2 separate regions of the Homo sapiens genome follow, and region 2 is linked to region 1. Evidence: promoter capture Hi-C in human tissues and cell types (Jung and others, 2019). All regions are on one chromosome and are shown on one strand. The core of a region is centred on a gene start or on the middle of the fragment in contact, and the rest is flanking DNA. Distances in the headings are between cores, read along the strand shown. Region 1 holds the start of A2ML1 (alpha-2-macroglobulin like 1). Region 2 has its middle 11 kb from the start of CLEC4E.

Region 1 (4,092 bases), core at 493-2,992:
CAGACCAGTCATCTGGCCCAACCAGTTCTGCCATCTCACCCAGGAACAGAAGACATTAAGAAAATCTAACTTCGACCCTCTATGATTCCATCTCCAACCTGAGCAATCAGCACTCCCCACTTCCCAAGCCCCTACCTGCCAAATTATCTTTAAAAACTCTGATCCACGAAGGCTCAAGGATTTAAGTAATAATAAAACTCCAGTCTCCCACACAGCCGGCTCTGCGTGAATTACTCTTTTGCCATTGCAGTTCCCCTGTCTTGATAAATCGGCTCTGTCTAGGCAGCAAGCAAGGTGAATCCATTGGGTGGTTACAAAACGGGGTCTCACTATGTTGCCCAGGCTGGTCTCAAACTCTTGGGCTCAAGCAATCCTCCAGCTTCTGACTCCCAAAAGCTGGGATTATAGGCATGAGCCACTGCACTTAGACTAATTTATATTTTAGGTGACTTCTAAGTATTACCATCATAAAGAACACTGTGGGCTGGGCACGGTGGCTCATACCTGTAATCCCAGCACTTTGGGAGGCTGAGGTGGTCCCTGGAGCTCAGGAGTTCGAGACTAGCCTGGGCAACATGGTGAAACCCTGTCTCTATTAAAAATACAAAACAATTAGCCAGGAGTGTTGGTGCCTACCTGTGGTCCCAGCTACTCAGGAGGTGGAGGTGGGAGGATCGCTTGAGCCCAGGAGGTCAAAGCTGCAGTGGGCTGAGATTGTGCCACTGCACTCCAGCCTGGGTGATAAAGTGAGACTCTACTTCAAAAAAATAAAAAATAAAGAAAAGAAAAAAAAGAAAGAACAGTGTGAAAAAACTCAGTGTTACACTTGTGCATACATGCATGCTGTCCTTTTTTTCCTCATTAAGAAACATTTCCAGAGTAGGAGTTGCTGAGTGAAAGAATATGCAAATCTCAAAGGCTTTGGTGTGTATTACAAAATTGCCATGAGAAAGTTATCCACATTCTATTTTCTCTAGGACTGTGTGTGTCCCTATTTCCATACAGTCACAACAATACTGAGTAGTATTAATTTTTTTTTTTTTTGAGACAGAGTCTCGTTGTGTCACCCACGCTGGAGTAAAGTGGCATGATCTCGGCTCACTGCAACCTCCACCTCCCGGGTTCAAGCGATTCTCCTGCCTCAGCCTCCCAAGTAGCTGGGACTATAGGCACCCACCACTATGCCCAGCTGATTTTTTTTTCTTTGTATTTTTAGTAGAGACAGGGTTTCACTATGTTGGCCAGGCTGGTCTTGAACTCCTGACCTGGTGATCTGCCCACCTCAACCCCCCAAAGTGCTGGGATTACAGGCGTGAGCCACTGTGACCGGCCAAGTTTACTGCTTTTCTATTGAAACTGTTCTCATACCCGTGTTCCCAACTACACCTTAATTGAATAATAAAAGAAAATAAGGACATTAAATGAGAACAGGAATTGGAATGAGACCAGAAAAAAAGGGAGGAGTTCAAAATATGTTCTGAGAGCTTTACCATTATGAATACTCAGCTCTGGTTTTCCCCCAAAACTGGCTGAACCAGTATGGATGTTCCAGGCAGAAACAACTTTAAAGAAGTGAATAGTGGCCCTACCCTGGTCCACCACCTAACCTGGTGGTTACAGAAGGAGGAACACAGTCCTCCTGTGTTCCAGGTGCCAGGAGGTGACTGACTATAGCATCAGTCATCACTGCACACCCTACCTGGAATTAGTATATAAAGCTACGCGGAGCGATCTCTGCCCCTGACCCTGGAAAAATCTGTCTCACCCACAAAGATGTGGGCTCAGCTCCTTCTAGGAATGTTGGCCCTATCACCAGCCATTGCAGAAGAACTTCCGTGAGTGCTTGGTGTCAGAATTGGTTTATTAGGGCAGCGGCTTCTTCGCCTAACTTTCTCAAACATTTATATGGAGATGGGGAGATCAACTTTGGTTTATCTTAATTTCCTCCTCCTTTTTTCTCTTCTTTGGTTCCACTGATCCTTTACCCAGAGAGGGAGGCTGACGCATGAAGAGGAAGCTTTAAAAAAGATAAATATTAAAATGTGCCCTGTTTTCTGAAATAGGCCTAATTTCCTCCTTGGTGCTCTAGGCATGTGTGCTCGGTGAGGGCCTCCTGATGGCGGAAGTTGAAGACTGTGCACTGAGTCGTTGCCCCTCTGCTTCTTGTAGAAAATGAGGTGCATAAGGAAGGCAGGGGCTTGGTCTGTCTAATTCACTGCTACTTGCTGAGCGCTTAGGAGAGTGCTGGATTTTTCGAGTGAATGAATCATTATTGCCCTGAAATCCTTCTGCTCCTTTAATAGAAACTACCTGGTGACATTACCAGCCCGGCTAAATTTCCCCTCCGTTCAGAAGGTTTGTTTGGACCTGAGCCCTGGGTACAGTGATGTTAAATTCACGGTTACTCTGGAGACCAAGGACAAGACCCAGAAGTTGCTAGAATACTCTGGACTGAAGAAGAGGCACTTACATTGTATCTCCTTTCTTGTAAGCACAGACTCAGCCCTCACTCGAATCCCTTACTTGCCTATTCTCCTCCCTAGGCTCACTATAATCTACTTTAAGTATAATTTCTGTTATCTTTTGCCACGGCCTCTAAACCTATTTTTTCTCAACTTAACCTCAATCCCCGGCTATAACTCACCCACGGTTTCCTCGACCTAGGATTTCTCCCTTTAGTTCCTGACCTTAATTCTTCCTCGTGGTAATTTGTTTTATGTCTCTATCCTTGCTACCCCCATCTAACTCAGCTCTTTCCTTTAACTCACTGTTGGGTTGAGACCAGTTGATTCTGTTCCCCCAATCCCTTACCCCTCCCCAGAAGTCCCCTTTCTTGGTCAGGTACCACCTCCTGCTGGTGGCACAGAAGAAGTGGCCACAATCCGGGTGTCGGGAGTTGGAAATAACATCAGCTTTGAGGAGAAGAAAAAGGTTCTAATTCAGAGGCAGGGGAACGGCACCTTTGTACAGACTGACAAACCTCTCTACACCCCAGGGCAGCAAGGTAAGAGTCACATATTTGGGGTTCGACTAAAACCTGGGGAAACCGCTGTGCACAGGGGTAAAGAGGGGATTTGTGGTTTGACAGTAGGCTTTGGAAAAAAAGGAGTGCAGAGGAGAGGAAAATCTGGGGGGATTAAGTAGTGCAAGTGTTGAATACATGCTGCGCTACACAAGCAAGAGAAGTAGGTGGGGGTTGCTACTGAGTTTGTGTATCTAAAACAAAAGTACACATTTCTTCTGGAATAGAATTTGGCAAGTATAACTGGGTTGCTGGGCCTTACAACAAACTGCTTGTAAATGGCTAAGAAAGCACTGAGGGCATTTGGCTTGAGCTACTGGGGTTTTTTTTTTTTTTTTTTTTTTTTTTTGTATTTGTTCATTCGTCCTTACAGGGGCACTTCATTCTGAGATTTCAAAGTCAGGCACCCTGAAAAGAAACTATGTTTGGGTTTTTTTTATTTTTTTATTTAAAATTTTTGTGGGTACATAGCTGGTGTATATATATTTATGGGGTAGATGAGATATTTTTATACACACACACAATGTGTAATCATTACATCAGGGTACATGTGTATCCATCACCTCAAGCATTTATCATTTCCTTGTATTACAAACAATCCAATTATACTCTCTTAGTAATTTTTAAATGTGCAATAAATTATTGTTGACTGTAGTCACTCTTTGTGCTAAAAACTACAAGATCCCTAGATCTTATTCATTCTAGCTAAATATATTTTTGTACCCATTAACCATTCCCACCCCACCCCTCATCCTGCCCACCATTACCCTTCCCAGCATCTGGTAACCATCATTCTGTTCTCTCTCTCTCTTTCAAAAAAATTTTTTTCCTTTTACCTTATTTTTTTCCACACACTTAAAAATTATTATTCTATTCTCTATCTCCACGACTTCAATTGTTTTAATTTTTAGCTCCCACAAATAAATGAGAACATGGAAAGTTTGTCTTTCTGTGTCTGGTTTATTTTACTTAACATAATGACCTCCTGTTCCATTCAGGCTGTTGCAAAGGATGGGGTCTCATTCTTTTTTATGGCTGAATAGTACTCCATTATGTATGTGTACCACATT
Region 2 (3,906 bases), core at 748-3,247, 290 kb before region 1:
CCAAGCTCTCCAGCCTCCCTGGCTCCGCAGGGGAAAAGCACAGCCTGAAGCTACAGAAATGGGTGCTTCCCTTCCGCCGCCCAGGGAGCTTTGCATGTTAAGCAGCTGTGAGTCCCAGTGCTGGCTACTGCCCCTCCCTCAAAGAGCGCAAACGGCTTAGACAGCAGGCAGCCACAGCCAGTGCTGGTCGCCCTCCGCCCGCGCTCCCCCACCCCCAGGAGTTCAGTAGGCCTTGGCACATTCCAGCTGAGAGCCGGTGAGAGTCGCGCGTTCCAGGGTTGGGATGCTAGGCCCCGGTGGCGTGCGTTTGTGAGTGGGATCTTCCAATCCGTAAGTTACACAGTTCCGTGGAAAAAGCACAGTTTCCCTGGCTGGGTAGTGTGCTCACCGACTGCCTCCCTTGGCTCGGGGGAGGGGGTTCCCTTTCCCCCATGTGGCTCTCAGGTGGGCCGCTGCACCGCTCTGCTCTTTCTTCTCTCCGTGGGTCACACCAGCCTTCCAGTCAATTATGATGAGACAGCCTGGGTATCTTGGTTGCGGGTGAAGGATCCACTCACTTATTGCGGTTTTTTTCCGTGGGAGCCTCAAAACACCACTGACTGAGAGGTGGGGCATTTAAGAAGCAATCAGATAATGAGGGTTCTATCCTCATGAATGAATTAACTCCCAGTTATAGAATAGTGGATTAATGGGTTGATGTATTAATGGGTTATCATAGGCAGAAAACTGGTGGCATTATAAAAAGAGGAAGAGGGACCTGAGCTAGCATGTTAGCACACGCAGCACCCTCACTGTGTGATCCCTGTACCACCTTGAGGCTCTTTAGAGAGTCCCTACCAGCAAGAAGGCCCTCACCAGACACAGCTTTTTGACCTTGGACTTCTCAGCCTCCATCACTATAAGAAATAAATTTCTTTTCTTTATAAATTTCTAGTCTCAGATATCCTGTTATAAGCAGCAGAAAATGAACTAATACACATCCATAGTCTCTTTTAGTCTATTCTGAACTCTCATGGCACCTCATCACAATCTCTTCAAGACAAAGACAGTAATTTCATAAAAATAGGTTCTAATTATTTTAGTACATTATGGTAGTCCTAGAAGCTTAAAATTCTTAAAAATTTCAAGCAGTGTTTTCATTTTTGAAACAGTAATATATGTGTGTTAAAAAGGCAAACTGTAAAAACATTAGTAAACGTAGAAGATAAATAAATCTTCTAACCTGAACTCTAGTTACTGAAATGCCTCTTCAGAGTAACTATGATTATCAGTTTCTTATTTACATTTCCATAAATGGTTATACTATATGTACTACATATAAAGTGTATAAGAATATATACTATATATAAACTATGTACTATACATAATAAACATATAATTACATACATGTTATATACTAAACATATATAGATATATAATCCACATTTTAAATATGAATAGAAATATAATCTACATATTCTTAAACATTTGCATTTTTTACTTAACAATATAGTTTTGATTTATATCTTGTTCTTATAAGTGAATAGCATTTATATTGCATTGTTGCAACATAATTTGAAATAACCTTAAAATTACAAAATATTTTCTTTTTTAATAACACTTAGCAAAGTAATGGCTGTGAAGCAAATCACCAGAGCAATCTCCGTTCAGATTGGGAAAGGAAGGAAATTTTCCAAGGAAGATTTTTTTCCCTACAAAATTATGGGATAGATGGAATGCATTTGAATGAATTGAGAGGTGATATACATTTCTGAAGAGTTAAAAGGTGAATTATGTCAGTACGCAGAAAGCTAGATAAATATAAAAAAATGGGTCCTGTATGGTGGCTCAAGCTTGTAATCCCAGCACTTTGGGAGGCCAAGGTGGGAGGATTACTTGAGGCCAGCAGTTTGAGACCAGCCTGGGCAACAAAGTGAGACCCTGTCTCTACAAAAAATTAAAAAATTAGCTGTGTTTGGTGGTGTGCACCTGTAGTCCTAACTACTTGGGAAGCCGATATGGGAGGATTGCTTGAGCCCAGGAAGTCGAGGCTCCAATGAAGCCATGATTGTGCCACTGTACCCTGGCCTGGGGACGGAGTGAGATCCTGTCTCCAAAAAAAGAAAAGATGTCAATATTAACTCCATAAAAAGCAAAATGTAATTAAAAATATGTAGTAAGAATACAGCAAATGGTTCAGCTGTGAATAATATTTACATATTCATACCAGTGCAAATGTTGAATACTGATTTTTAAATAAATGATTATATAGTGATAGCAGGGGGATGGGAAAGAGAGAGAGAAAGAAGACTATTCTTGTTTTCATTAGTGTGGAGCTCATAGAAATTATCTAAAACTGAAAAAAATCAAGGAATTATAGTATAAACTTTTGATAGAAATAGAAACATGGAACTCAATAGAAAAGAAGCATCTAAACGGTTGAATACGATTGCCACTTAGGTGTGGGAATCAGAAGTGGGCAGGAAACAGCTATTTTTAATTACAATCCTCTAGAAGAATTTGTTTTTTTAAACAATGTGCATATATGTACATAGTGTGCAAATCTATTAATGTAATTAATCTTATCAACATTTTAAAAGAGCTGCTAAAGCATCATCTAGTAAAATCAATAAACCACTTAGTGTTAAAACATTTAACAAAGAAGAAATGAAAGGAATTTTCTGCAGGATGTCTACCCCAAACCTGTAGCAACTATTAGATTTAATGGTAAGCCATTAGAAGCATTTTCTTTAAGTTTAAGAACAAAACTATAGCAGCTTTATGCAACAATATGTTGGCATTCCTAGCCAGCTCAATATGACCAAAAGAACTGGAAGGGAGTTTTAAAAACCCACAACTATCATTATTTCTAGACCAGAACTGTCCCAGGGAAATATAGTGAAAGGCAAAAATGTGAGTTGCATATGTCTAAATTTTCCAGTAATTATATCAAGAAAGCAAAAAAAAAAAAAAAAGCCCGAAGAAGTGAAATTAATTCTAATAACTTATTTTATTTGAACAAACATATCTAGAATATTATCATTTTGACATGTAATCCATATAAAATTCTTAGTGACATATTTTATATTCTTTTTTCAAATTATCAAAAAAACTAGTGTGTATTTTACACTTACAGAATATCTCAATTAGGATAGTGCTTAATAGTCTACTGTGGCTGGTGGCTACTGTACTGGATAGCTCAGTGTTTTAGACAGTATAATTATCTACACAGAAAATAAAAGGGAATGTATGGACAAAATGTTTTAAAAAATTAGGAAAGTTAAACAGTGTTTCTGGATAAATTATTATTATACAAAAATCAACAATATAATACTCTGCAAAATGTACAAAATAATATTACACTTACAATGGCAATACAATTCTAAGATACCCAAGAGTAAACCGTGCGAAATTTTAAAGTTGGTTGCACGACATATATGCTGACCCGCTCAGGCTCTACCTCTCCATCCTGTGCTGAATGACCTGTGTGGACATCCACCTCACCCTGCCCGGTGCCCTGTGGCCCTCCTAGATAGTCCTCCTGCTTCGGCTCAGACACCTTTGCTCAACCACCCCCACGTATGGGCGTCCTCCTCACTCTAGCTCAGGCTTTGAGACTTTGGGACAGTCCAACCCCCACCAGGATGCCCTGCTGAACCCACTGGCGTTCTGACATCCTTACTGTCTCCTGCTTCCCCCACAATCTCCCCTTTACACTGTCTGGGATCTAACTCTCTGAGGGGTAGTCATGCGTCCCTCTCCCCCTCCCGCATATACATGCACACACGTATAAAGACCACCTTGCTCTGCTCCACCCACGTGCAATGATTTTAGGAGTCATTATCAGGAAACGGAAAGGTAGAAAAGGGGATTGGGAAACAGGAGAGCAAAAACATTTGACTTAATTGTTGATTGTTTATAATTTTT

Evidence for each region. Contacts are between HindIII fragments. The study calls those that stand out against the background at their distance.
Region 2: a contact is called between a fragment that was not itself captured here and the fragment with the promoter of A2ML1 in region 1, in 2 of the 25 tissues and cell types used here (H1 embryonic stem cells and mesendoderm cells).

The regions. Positions count from the first base shown.
Region 1 is chr12:8,820,879-8,824,970 of GRCh38, forward strand. It overlaps A2ML1 (alpha-2-macroglobulin like 1), which reads left to right and starts at 1,743. Exons shown (of 36, transcript NM_144670.6): 1 at 1,743-1,835; 2 at 2,304-2,487; 3 at 2,842-3,004. The coding sequence starts at 1,774. All of the region lies in intron 1 of A2ML1-AS1 (A2ML1 antisense RNA 1), which reads right to left. The HindIII fragment of the contact is 7,738 bases long and covers 1-3,361 here.
Region 2 is chr12:8,527,522-8,531,427 of GRCh38, forward strand. It overlaps a transcript of CLEC4D not described here. Among named protein-coding and RNA genes, the nearest start is that of CLEC4E, 11 kb to the right of the region's middle. The HindIII fragment of the contact is 4,465 bases long and covers 1-3,906 here.